Linked DNA regions of Homo sapiens: regions 1, 2 and 3 are each linked to region 4. The links are contacts of gene promoters, found by promoter capture Hi-C in human tissues and cell types (Jung and others, 2019). All regions are on one chromosome and are shown on one strand. Each heading gives the region's core, a stretch centred on a gene start or on the middle of the fragment in contact. The rest is flanking DNA. Distances are from core to core; before and after follow the strand shown. Region 1 has its middle 120 kb from the start of KCNMA1-AS1. Region 2 overlaps LRMDA (leucine rich melanocyte differentiation associated). Region 3 overlaps KCNMA1 (potassium calcium-activated channel subfamily M alpha 1). Region 4 holds the start of ZNF503 (zinc finger protein 503).

The links. Contacts are between HindIII fragments. The study calls those that stand out against the background at their distance.
Region 1: a fragment that was not itself captured here is called in contact with the fragment with the promoter of ZNF503 in region 4 in 1 of the 25 tissues and cell types used here (dorsolateral prefrontal cortex).
Region 2: a fragment that was not itself captured here is called in contact with the fragment with the promoter of ZNF503 in region 4 in 1 of the 25 tissues and cell types used here (dorsolateral prefrontal cortex).
Region 3: a contact is called between a fragment that was not itself captured here and the fragment with the promoter of ZNF503 in region 4, in 1 of the 25 tissues and cell types used here (lymphoblastoid cells).

Annotation. Positions count from the first base shown.
Region 1 is chr10:76,769,835-76,772,917 of GRCh38, reverse strand. No RefSeq gene overlaps it. Among named protein-coding and RNA genes, the nearest start is that of KCNMA1-AS1, 120 kb to the left of the region's middle. The HindIII fragment of the contact is 4,891 bases long and covers 1-3,083 here.
Region 2 is chr10:76,532,274-76,535,366 of GRCh38, reverse strand. The region is part of intron 6 of LRMDA (leucine rich melanocyte differentiation associated); the gene reads right to left. Among named protein-coding and RNA genes, the nearest start is that of KCNMA1-AS1, 350 kb to the left of the region's middle. The HindIII fragment of the contact is 3,476 bases long and covers 1-3,026 here.
Region 3 is chr10:77,077,553-77,080,592 of GRCh38, reverse strand. KCNMA1 (potassium calcium-activated channel subfamily M alpha 1) reads left to right here. Exons shown (of 28, transcript NM_001161352.2): 13 at 1,043-1,112. Among named protein-coding and RNA genes, the nearest start is that of KCNMA1-AS2, 62 kb to the left of the region's middle. The HindIII fragment of the contact is 7,464 bases long and covers 1-3,040 here.
Region 4 is chr10:75,400,450-75,403,493 of GRCh38, reverse strand. It overlaps ZNF503 (zinc finger protein 503), which reads left to right and starts at 1,730. Exons shown (of 2, transcript NM_032772.6): 1 at 1,730-2,389. The coding sequence starts at 2,075. It overlaps ZNF503-AS2 (ZNF503 antisense RNA 2), which reads right to left and starts at 1,966. Exons shown (of 2, transcript NR_024421.1): 1 at 1,233-1,966. RefSeq lists an enhancer at 2,228-2,728. The HindIII fragment of the contact is 17,931 bases long and covers 1-3,044 here.

The DNA of each region.
Region 1 (3,083 bases), core at 40-2,539, 1.4 Mb before region 4:
GGAACACCAGCATATTATGAGAAATGACCAAATTCAACTTCCTTGTTTTGCATATTGAAAAACCAATGCTGAGCTTCCCAAAGAGAACAAGAACCTGAGGACATCACCCTTCTTGGAGCATCTCTGTTGAGTGGAAAGGGTAAACTTGGAAAGTCTGTCTCTTTTTGCTAAGGGCACTGCAGTTTAGTTCAAGACACTCTGGGATGATCCCAGGATGTCCTCCCTTTTTCTCCATGACCTTGGTTCAAAGGTGGGGGCCTTTCTTGACTCCTTGGTTAATGCAGAGGCAGATCAGACCCTTCTATCCTCTCTGCTCCCAGGCTGTTCAGGCCACCAAGCTGCCTCAGCCTTTATCATAGGTCGGTGCATGTGTTTATATGTCCATTTCCTTCTACTGAAGATTTCCCAAATGATATAAATAAATGTCTTTCCAACAAAGAGAGTCTGTGGTCAACTCATTGTTGAAATGCAGAGTCAATGAGGTCTCTCTAGGACTTCTTAGCACATTGAATATGCCTTTGTGCATTGTGGATCTCCATCAGGGTAATAGGTGGTAGGTAGAAATTCACACATTTTTGACCCAGAAACTTCTGTTGTTAGGGCATAGCAGGTGGCCCCTTGAAAAATACTGCTTTATCTCAGTTTGAATGCCCTGTACCCAGTTATCATGTGTTAGTCTTCTTTGTGCCCAAAACATATAGCACTACACTGAGTACATGACAAGTTAGGAAACATATTTAACGAAAAAAAGAGTCAAGTTATGTATTTTTTCAAATTCTCAATTTGTTCATCTTAGACCTAAGATTAAATGTTATTTTGCTTGGTGGTTTTAAAGTGTTGGAAAGGAGGAGTATTTGAATGAACATAAATTGATAAACTGGAAAACACTTGGTATAGTTTGTGTTGCCATCAATATCACTACTACCACTATCATTCTATTACTACTAATAAGTGATTCATGGAGAATTATTTCTTTTAACCCTTCCTCTATAAGTATTACATATAGCTCCTAAGTTTTCTTATGTGTGTGTGTGTGTGTATATATATATATATATATATATATATACATACATACATACACATACATACATATATATATATATATATATATATATGTAGTTTTAGACTGGCATATGTTCTAAGAAATGTGATATTAGGCCATCTCATGGTGGTGCAAACAACGTAGAGTGCACTTACACAAACCAGGATGGTATTGCCTACTACACACCTAGGCTATATGGTATGGCCTATTGCGCCTACACTACAGACCTCTACAGTATATCACTGTACTGAATACTGTAGGCAATGATAACACAATGTTATTTGTGTATCTAAAGGCAGAAAAGGAAGAGTAAAAATACAGCATAAAAGATAGGAAGTGGTACACCTTTACAGGATACTTACCATGAATGGAGCTTGCAGGACTGGAAATTGCTCTGGGTGAGGCTATGAGTGAATGTGAAGGCCTAGGACGTTACTGTACACTACTGTAGACTTTATAAACAAGTATACTGAGGTTATACTAAATTTACAAAAATATTTTTCTTTTTCCATAATAAATTAACGTTAACTTACTGTAACTTTTTAACTTTATAAACTTTTAATTTTTTTAAAACTTTGTGACCCTTGTGTGGTAACAGCTTAAAACAGAAACACAGCTCACACTTGTGCAAAGATATTTTCTTTCTTCATATCCTTATTTGATAAGCTTTTTTCTATTAACTTTTTTAAAACTTCTTAAATATTTTGGTTAAAAACTAAGATGCAGACACACACATTAGACTAGGCCTCCACAGAGTTAGGGTCATCAATATCACTGTCTTCCACTCCCACATCTTGTCCCATTGAAAGGTCTTTTGGGTCAATAACATACATGGAGCTGTCATCTCCTATGATACCAATGCCTTCTTGGGTTACCTCCTGAAGGGCCTGTCTAAGGCTGTTATGAAGCTAAATTTTTTTAAAAAAGTAATATAAGGAGATACTCTAACGTAACAATAAAAAGTATAGTATAGTAAATACATAAATCAGTAACATGGTGGTTTATTATCATCTTCAAGTATTATGAGGCAGGTGCAGTGGCTCAAGCCTATAATCCCAGCACTCTGGGAGGCCAAAGTGGGTGGATCTCTTGAGCTCAGTGTCTACTAAAAATACAAAAAATTAGCCAGGAATGGTAGTGCAAGCCTGTGGTCCCAGCTACTTGTGGGGGCTGAGGGGGGAGATCACTGGACCCCAGAGGCAGAAGTCGCAGTGAGCCAAGATCGCACCACTGCACTCCAGCCTGGGTGACAGTGAGACCTTGTCTCAAAAAAAAATATTTATGTCCTATGCATAATTGTATGTGCTACACATTTATACAACTTGCAGTGCAGTAGGTTTGTTTATACCAGAGTCACCACAATTACATGAGTAATGCATTGTTTTATGTTACCACCGTTCCATCATTAGGCAACAGGAATTTTTCAGTTCCACTATAATCTTATGGAATCACCATTGCACATGTGGTCCGACATTGATTAAAATGTCATTACACAATGCATGACTATAGAATCAGGTATAAAACACAGTTGAATGGATCATTTACTGAATTCTTGCTTTCCAAGTAGCCTATGCCTGAGAAAAAATAGTACCCATGTATCTAAATAAATATTCAATTGCAAACCTCATTCATCTAGTTGTAATTTTTGATAATTGTTATTACTATAATCATATATATGATCATTATTACTACAACTAAATGTGTGTGTATAAGTGTGTTGTATATTTATGTGTATATGTATATACACATATGATGACATGTGTCATTTATTGAGCAACTATTATGTGCCATTTGTGGTGACCAGTTCTTTACAATATTATTCTCATCCTCATAGTGATCTGCAAAACTGGCATTAGTATCCCCATTTTAAGAAGAAGAAATCAAGGCCTAGAGATGTTACATAACCACCCAGAAGTGTAGGGACCCTGTGCTTTAATTTTCTGAAAGAAGCCTGGAAATATCTGCTCAGCTTAAAACAGACTTGCTCATACCTTGCATTTATCCTGCTTACTGTGATGAGTTATGGCCTATGCCCAGAACA
Region 2 (3,093 bases), core at 39-2,538, 1.1 Mb before region 4:
AAATTATTTGTCCCTCCCCACCTCAATGCCTTCATCCTCTGCCTTCCTCTTCTTCCAACCCCCTCAAGAGCATATATTCCACATATATAATGCATCCTTCTTTTATTCCTTCCTTCCCTCCTTCTTTCACAAAAATGCATAAGACCCATGTTTAATTTGCATTACAAAATGCCTGACTTGAAAAGTTATTTTCTGGTCATGGACTCATGCTTTCTTACATGACACAACTATTTACTGAGAGTCTACGATGTGCTGGGCAATATCCTGGTAGCTAGGGATACGGCAGTGTATCCCTGTGTGAGGATATGCAAGGCTATTGCCTGGCACATAGCAAAGTCTTAGGTCACAGACACTATAATCTGCTGGTGGAAGACAGGCAAGGAAAGCAAGCAGACAAAATTTAGAAACAAACAACTATAATAATTTTAGACATAAATATCATGGAGGTAGTATAATGGGGTGGGTGGATAGAACTAAGAAACAGAATACCTAGATGCTGGTACTAGCTCCTCTGTAGTTCAGGTTTGCAAATTTTGGCAGGTCACATGACTTATGTGAGATCCAGTGTTCATATTTTGAATGGCAATAATAATCTTTGTCAATATACCCCCGCAAGGTGACAATGAGAAACTTCAGCTTCTGAATGACATGTATTATCATTGCCAAATGATAATATTTTTTGGAATATGCCTTGATAATCTGTCATAATTTTTATAATGAGCCATCTTATAACTATCCTGTTACTGCATTAACAAGGATTATACAAGCTGCTGTAACAAATAAGTCCCAAAATTTCAGTGGCCCAACACAATAGAAGTTTACATCTTTCTTACTCAAAAGGCCAATACAGGCAATTTCCTCCAGGTGTAATTTTTGTGGCTCTGCCTTCTCCTATTGAGTCCTCTCATTTGCATCAGGCCAGTGGAAAGGGAAAGAATGTGGAAGAGGCACAGCCATTTCTCAAAAGCCTTGGTCATGAACTGCCACGCATCCCTTCCACGAACATTTCATTGGCTAAAATACACACATGTGGCCATATCTTTCACGAGTGTGACACACTCATGTGACCTCTCCTAACTGCAAAGGAGAATGAAATGAAGTCTAGCTTGGTACCCCAAAAGCAGGAGAAAATGTGGATTTTTGTGAGCAAAAAGCAATCTCTGATATTATGATTACATTTTTTCACATTCTTCCTTAATATGTAATAATGTAATATGTTAAAGAGAATGGAAAGGTTAATTTTACTGTGAGTTATGGGCCAACTATGTACCAAACATAATACTATATTAGTGCCTTGACCTGTGGGGCAAAGCACAGGATCTATCACAGTGTCTGGCACATAACACAGTACGTATTCATAGGTCAATGAATGAGCATCCCACTAGATTCCAAGCTTCATGAGAACAAGAAGTCTGATCTGTCTACAGTCTACTGCAGTCACTTAAGAGCCTGGCACTGTGCCCAGCATGTAGTAACCAGTAAATATGTTAAGGATTTATGCTTTGAAACCTAAAATTATAATATATTTTGTTTCTCAAGTTGAGCATATACATTACAGGATACTCTTGGAGCAAAACATTGATGACATATTTTGCCATGTTAGAGTAGTTCCAAGCCATCCAGCCTTTACCTAAATACTCAGGAATACTTAAATAACTGGCAATGCTGCAGAACCATTATAGCTGTATTTTAGTATCAAAGTATAATAAGCAAGTAAAGTAGACAGTGTCTATTCTTAAAATAGAAATCCATAGGTGCCTTTAACTGAAAATTAAAAACAAATGACCCTAACTTCCAAAGAGCCTCCGTTAATTAATTAAAGCAATGAGTTTGCAAGCTCCTGAATGACAGCAAGTTGTTCTTGGAGGCCAGCATGGGTGTGTAAGAGCAAAAGAAACCAGCAACAATTTCAACAATGAACATAAAGTCAGGTCTTATATGATAAAGATCTAAACACAGTTAACCAAGAAGGGAAAGAAGTGCTCATGACTTTACACAAAGGCATTGTTTTTCATGGTAGAATCAAAGTGCAATGAATCCAGTTGAATCCGGATATAGGAACTGAAGTTGGCCTGTCATGGTCAATATACTCAAGGTAAAATTTAGAATAATCACAATCAACTGGTTTTAGGACAGATTCAATAATATCCTATTTGAAACTAATAGTTACACTTTACAGGTGTTTGTGATTCATTCTCTCTCTCGCTCTCTCTCACTCTCGCTCTCGCTCTCCATCTACAAGTGGTTATTTTTGTTTTGTTACTGGAATGTCAACATTCAAATTAAGATCCATTTCAAAGGCTGCATCTTCTTTGAATAAGAAATTTATTTGTTATTACAACTATGAAAATAATTTAAATAAAAATGGGATATAAAACTCTGAGAATCACCAGGAAGCCATAATTTAACATAAAATCCACTCTGTAGCAAGATCGTAAGAGGCATGTCATATTCATCTGAGAAACACACAATTAGAAGAACTGTGATAACTAAAGCAATGTAACTTTTAAATTTACCATTCAGATTTTGGTTTTCCCAATCAAAAGAAGAAAACAATGCATTCCTAAAGTAAAGGTTCTAACCCTAGGAAAAGCTGAAATGGCTTGTTCCTCCAAACCTCCCATGATGATTCACATGACAAGACTCCTCTTTGCCAAATAAAACTCTCCTTATCATTCAAGGCCCAAATAAAATGCCATTTCTTCTTAGAAGACTTCTCTGATTTCCCCTTGGCAGAATTAATGGTTCCTTGTTTTCTCTTTCTGTGCACTACCCATCACACAACCACTACACATATCCCACTGCAGCACAGTCAAGCATTTGATTGCTATTACTCCCTCTTAAAAGAAATTTACTTGAACCCAAGGATACTGTCTGACTCATCTTTGAAACCACAACCTGTATTGCATGTCCTACAATTCAAAATATGGTTCCAATCTTTGCTGAATGAATGAATAAATAAATGTATAAAGGAACTAACTTTCTCTGTTTACCAAACAGAAGGCCCAGAAGGTTATGAGAAGAATTCATAGTCAAGCCGTGAATTAACACTTTGGTTATGTGATGGCCACAATGATTAAAAGTAGAGGTTTG
Region 3 (3,040 bases), core at 438-2,937, 1.7 Mb before region 4:
CAGGACACAGACTGTGGCTGTTTTGTGATTTTGTTTTCACACTAGCAAGAGATATGGTGGTGGGAATACTGTTTAACCTGGCCCAGTGTCTGCAACCCCTCAGGATAGCCCTGGCTGCTGGTCCTGATGCAGGATAGGTGAGCCCCAAAATGGGGCTTAGCCCATGAAGGTTTTTAGCTTCCCCCAGAAAAGAATTCAAAGGCAAGCTGATGGTAGGGCAGAAGGAAACAGCTTTATTGAAGCAGTAGTATTACAGCTCTGTGACTGCTCCTGCACAGCGGGGCTACACCATAGAGTAGCAGCTCTGGGCAGGCTGTCGTATTTATACCTACTTTTAATTGCATGCAGATTAAGGGGCAGCTTATGCAAAAATTTCTAGGGAAGGGGTAGTAACTTCTGGGTCACCGGGTCATTGCCATAGAAAGGCAAGTCCCATGAGCCCAGTGCAGATAGAAGCAAGTTCTTTGAGCTTTCTTTCTCACTGTCCACCCAGACACTTAGGCAATCATATTAAAGGGTTTCCTCTTTCATGGCCTTCTTTGTTCCTCATGGTGGCTTCCCCAAATTGTATGTAGTGAGAGATGGAACTGGGACTGGAATTCATCCATGCATTACAACTTGCTTTCAGGAAAGGACCTGGTATGTGCCTGTAAAGTTATGTCACTATGAACATATTCCAAGAGATAGTTGATTTCATAATTGGACAACGGGCTTGAAATATGAAGCATTTCAATCCCCTATGATCTAGTAATAGTAATGTTCTAGGGCCTAGAGGTTATAGGGAACCTCCTGGGTGTTGCCATGGCAATGGTAAACTGACAGGGCACACTGCTGGGCTTGTCCAGTGAAAAGTTGCTTCTGCCCCATCCCTGTTTCAGCTAGTCTTCAATTTTGTCTGGTATCTGAGCCCTGCCTCTGGAATCAAGTCCTGCCTCCTACCTCAGTCCCATGGGTACCCCATTTGGAGACAGTAAAATTGATCTTTTTGTCAGACACCATGCATAAGGCAGACCTGTCTCAGCATTGGTTCTTTCTTTTTCAGAGTAATCTCCATAAAGAACTACCATCCGAAGATAAGAATCATCACTCAAATGCTGCAGTATCACAACAAGGTAGGAGTGCGAGAGCCCGCTCCAGGTCTGAAGACCCATCCACAGGTCCAGCCTCTTCTTCCTCATTATACAGGCTCACACACACACACACACACACACACACACACACACTCTCACATGCCCACATGTGCGCAACTCAAAGACCTGGGTAAAGAGGTGTGATTGTTAAAAATCTTCCTGGGACATTTCTTTCTTTCTTTCTTTTTTTTTGGGATGGAGTCTTGCTCTTGTTGCCCAGGCTGGAGTGCAATGGCATGATCTTGACTCCCCACAACCTCCACCTCCCAAGTTCAAGCAATTCTCCTGCCTCTGCCTCTTGAGTAGCTGGGATTACAGGCATGCGCCACCATGCCAGGCTGATTTTGTACTTTTAGTAGAGATGGGGTTTCTGCATGTTGGTCAGGATGGTCTCGAACTCCCAACCTCAGGTGATCTGCCCGCCTCGGCCTCCCAAAGTGCTGGGATTACAGGCATGAGCCACCACGCCTCTGGCCCATTTCTTTAGTCCAAACAACGTGTTTGCATTTGGTCACTGGAAGGATGCTCCTTCATGTACTGATTCATTCATTCGGGAAGTGTCTATTGGAACCCGAGGTTCAGAACTATTGATTTACTCTTGGATCCCATCCATACTTAAGTTACAACAACTTTTATTTGTATGTGCTGCAGTCATTTACTTATTCAGTAAATATTTATTGAATACATACTGTGTGATTAGCACTCTCCCTGACACCCACAGGAATATCAGTGAAGGAGAAGCCCTATTTTGTGTCCTCGGGGATTTAGCAGTTAAGGTGTAGAATGCTCCAGGCAAGTGAGTGATAGGATTTCTCTATCTGAGACCAGGTGAACTAGTGAGTGCATAATGCGCTCTGTAAGAGTGTAATGTGGGACACATTCCCAGAGTCGAGATGAGAATTTGCAGAGTTGAATCAGGAAAATAGTAAGCTATCCAGAGATTAAAGAGAAAGGAATTTTCCTTGTGTTATAGCTTACAGTGGGGGATTGATTAGAAAGAAGACAAAAGTCAGAGTCTATGCTGTTTCCCTGTGATTACTTCTCAGTAAACCAGAGTCCAGTGTCTCATTCAAAGGCAGTGCTCCTTCTCTCAGCCAGTCAATAAACTTCCAAAAAAACAGCTTTAGGGGAGGGAAGGTGGCACCTTTCTCCATTTGATGCAGTACCAGTTATGTCCTTAATGAAACCTAGAAACCGGAGGCTGCCCAGTACCTGGAGCCAGGTGTCCTGTCTGTACAGAATAACTCGCTGCTGGGTTATGAGTAACAGCGTACCCCCTCTTATGGGCCATATTCCCTATGAAATAGGCAGTCAGGTGATGCAGAGAAAAACCCCATTCTGCCAAATGCACCAGTGCCATGCCGTTATTTCTTAATTGCTGGCAAGTGCTGGCCCATTTTGCTGTGTGGAGGCCCATCAGAGGCTGTCACTGAGTGGAGCCTGCTGTCAGTGACTGGCCCACCATCCAGAACGGCTGACTGCTGCCAGCCACTGCCCAGCCCTCGGCAGGTGGCTCCCTTGCAGAACGTGTTGTTCTCCAGCCAACGGATTTGGTGGTGGGCACCCAAGGTCACATTCGCCTGTTTGTCTCTGGAAAACCCAAGGACACTGAAGAGATAAAGTGAGGATATTGGTAATGTACGGGTGTCAAGCTGGAGAAGTTTTTGATGGCAGCCCTTGTAGGTGGAGGTGAATTTTATTAGCAAGGCTGTGACTAGTGACAGCTCCTGCAGCAACGAGCTCTCCTTCTTTCATTTGTGATCTGAAATTTCATTTAGTGTGGGAGTGCTTTAAGCTGTTGTTTAGATTTTTGGCTGAATTTAGATTGAATAGGAAAATTAATGTTGTATGTTTAGAAGGGGTTGTCAGTTCCTTTTTTTTCTCTTTCCAATGAGTGCTGATGCAGCATC
Region 4 (3,044 bases), core at 481-2,980:
AGTCCCGCTCCGCTTCCCTGGAAGAACCCGCGTTCCCACAGGCAGCCGCCCCCTCCCTCTCTCGCTCCTTCCCTCGGCTCTCCTAGCGCAGCTCATTCCGACTCGGCGTTCCAATAAATTCGAGAGAGCAGCCCCGAGTTACCCTGGCTCCCCAGCCTGCGGGGATGGCGGCAGGTGGGAGAAGGTCGGGGAGGGGGCATGAGTGAGCCTGAGATGTTTCTTCCCCCATACACCCATGGCCAGGCCTCTTCTTCGCAGCCTCTTAGCCCTGCTTACGACCCGAGGGGGTCAAAGAATTGAGGCGAGGTTTGCCCCACCATTGACCTCCAGGACTAGAAGTTCCTTGGTGGTGTGGCTCTTAGAAGTCTCCGAGTTTGGGGTTAGGGAACTACAGAGGGTGGCAGCCTGACCTCCGCACGCAACACGCCCCGCGAGGACTCGCGGCGGCGGGGTGGGGTGGCGGGAAATCTCCCGTGTTAGAAGTTGCCGCCGCTGGTCTCGGGTACCCGGAGCCGCGCCCGAACTCCGCGACCCCAACAGACCGAGGCTCCCAGAGGTGGAAGGGCGTCTCTCCGACACCGAGAGGGCAGGCGCACACTCCAGGCCTGCGCGCCCCTCTCGGCGCCCTGGGCGCACCTGCGCACTTTACTCTCGCTATTCATTTTCCTGACACCGTGCGCCTCTTTCATTCTTTTTCTTAGAGCCCCCACCCCACCCCCATCCCAGGAGGCCGCTCCTCTTTTCCCCTCCTCCAGTTCCCTCTCAATCTCCTCCTTCCTCTCCGTCTCTCTCTCCCTCTCTCTTTTTCCCTTCAAGTCGCACCCGCCTTGTAATCAGCAACAAAAGCTGACATAAATCACGGGAGGATTGACAAGAGCTGACAAATAACTGATTGATTGCGGTCGAGGAACATTGACAATTGATGGAGGGGTGGAGATGCCCAAAGAAGGGGGGGAGGGAGGAAAACAGGGTGGGAGAGTAAGAATGGGGGGTTGGGGGACAGACTGAGGGTGAAACAGAGGAAACATGTGACCCCCGCTGCTGCCCCAATCTACGCGTCCCCGGGCGTCACGTGGCCGGGAAGGGCGGAGAGCCCAGCGCTCCTCGCGGTGTTGAGCCGCCGCCGCTGCGACTGCCCATCTAGCTTCTGGTTTCTCCGCCGCGGAATCTGAGGAAATTAGAGCGGGCGGGCGGGCTTCTTCCAGCTCCGGCTCCCCACCTTGCCTTCTTACCCTGGTGGCTGCGCTGCGCCGCGCGGGATCTCGATTACTGCGAAGGAAAAAACACTGGGTGTGCAGGTTCCCTTCGCCCCTGGAGTTGACAGTCCGGCCGGTGTCCACACTCCCACCGGTGCTCCTTCTGGACACCCCCCGCAGTCTGTTCCTCACGCGCACCCCCCTTCAAAAGAAGGTTTCAGTTTATTTTCGAGCTGGGGAAAGGAAGAACGACGAGGAGGAAAAAAGAGGGAGGCGGCGGATGGCAAACGTAGAATAAATGTCCATCTCGTCCTCCCAGCGAAATCGAGGGAGGGGACACACAGGGGGGCGGCGAAGAGGGAGCTGCCCATTAAAACCGGCACTGAGAGTCCTGGCAGCGGCGGCGGCGGCGGCGCGGGACGCGTCACATCCCCTTGACCCTCCAATCACCTCGGGCTCCCATTTGATTGGAAGGCGGCAAAGGCTTTAATCTCCCCCTTGGTGCAGCTGCTTTTGAAGTGAGTTTCCTCGCCAGAGCCCCGGCTGGACACGCAGCGGCTCGCATCGCAGAGCGCAGCGCCGGCGCGGGGCCGCGAGAACGCAGCGCAGGGGAGCAGCCCGAGGCGGACACCGCGAGCCGCCCGGCACTCCCGCAGTCCAGCCGGCTCCTCTAGCCCGGCCACGGCTCCGCTGCGGGCCACCCAGGATTACTCGCGTCTGGCTCCAGGCGCCGAGAAGGCGCGCTGGGCGCCCGTGGCCGCCGCGCCAGCTCCTCCTCCTCCCGCTGCTCCTGCTCCCGGGGCGAGCGCGCAGCCCCGAGCCCGCCCCGCGCCTCCCGGAGCCCTCCCCCCCGCTGCTCCCATGCGCGCGGGTGGGTCATGAGCACAGCGCCCTCGCTTTCTGCCCTAAGAAGCAGTAAGCACAGCGGCGGCGGCGGCGGCGGAGGCGGAGGCGGCGGTGCAGACCCTGCCTGGACCAGCGCGCTCTCTGGAAATAGCTCCGGCCCCGGCCCAGGCTCGTCCCCGGCCGGCAGCACCAAGCCTTTTGTGCACGCCGTGCCCCCCTCTGACCCCCTGCGCCAGGCCAACCGCCTGCCAATCAAGGTGCTGAAGATGCTGACGGCACGAACTGGCCACATTTTGCACCCCGAGTACCTGCAGCCCCTGCCTTCCACGCCGGTCAGCCCCATCGAGGTAAGGACCCTCTCTCTGGATCGCACTGGGACCACTACCCTGGCTGCCACCCTAGGGCTTTCTTTTTCTCGGGATCTGGGCGGAGGTGGGGGGGTCGGAGTGATTCAGCTCCCGAATGGGGGAAGAGGCTACTGCTTCCGTACCTCAAAACTAGGGCGGAAAAGGGGGAGGAAGTGGAATGGGGCGTGCATGCTAGGGAGCAAGGCTGCCAATACTTGTTTCTCCTTTCGATATGAAAGCCCCTACCCCGACCCAGGCCCCTTCACTCGGCACCGAAGGCAGGCGGAGGTCTGAAATACGGTTCCAAAGTCGCCGTCCTTCGTATCCGCAGAAGCCAGTGTGTGCACACAGCCTCTGAGGCGCCAGCCGCCCGAGCCCTTACTCTGAAGAATTAAGGAGTGTTTGTGGGGAGGGGGTACAGTTCTGGGTCTAGGAACCGAAAACCAAAACATTTTGCTCTTTAAAAATCTAGTTAGCGCTCAGAGAGGGCAGGAAAGATGCTGCTGGGGGTGGTGGTTGGGCGGGGGGAGCAATCTGCTGCCTTTCCCAACGGCGAGAATGTTTGTGAGTGGGTGTTGAAGAGGGGGTGCCGCCTAGAATTGCGCCTTGGGGCTGGGAGGATCTTCGTGGGCTGTTGCGGAGAGGCATTTGAACC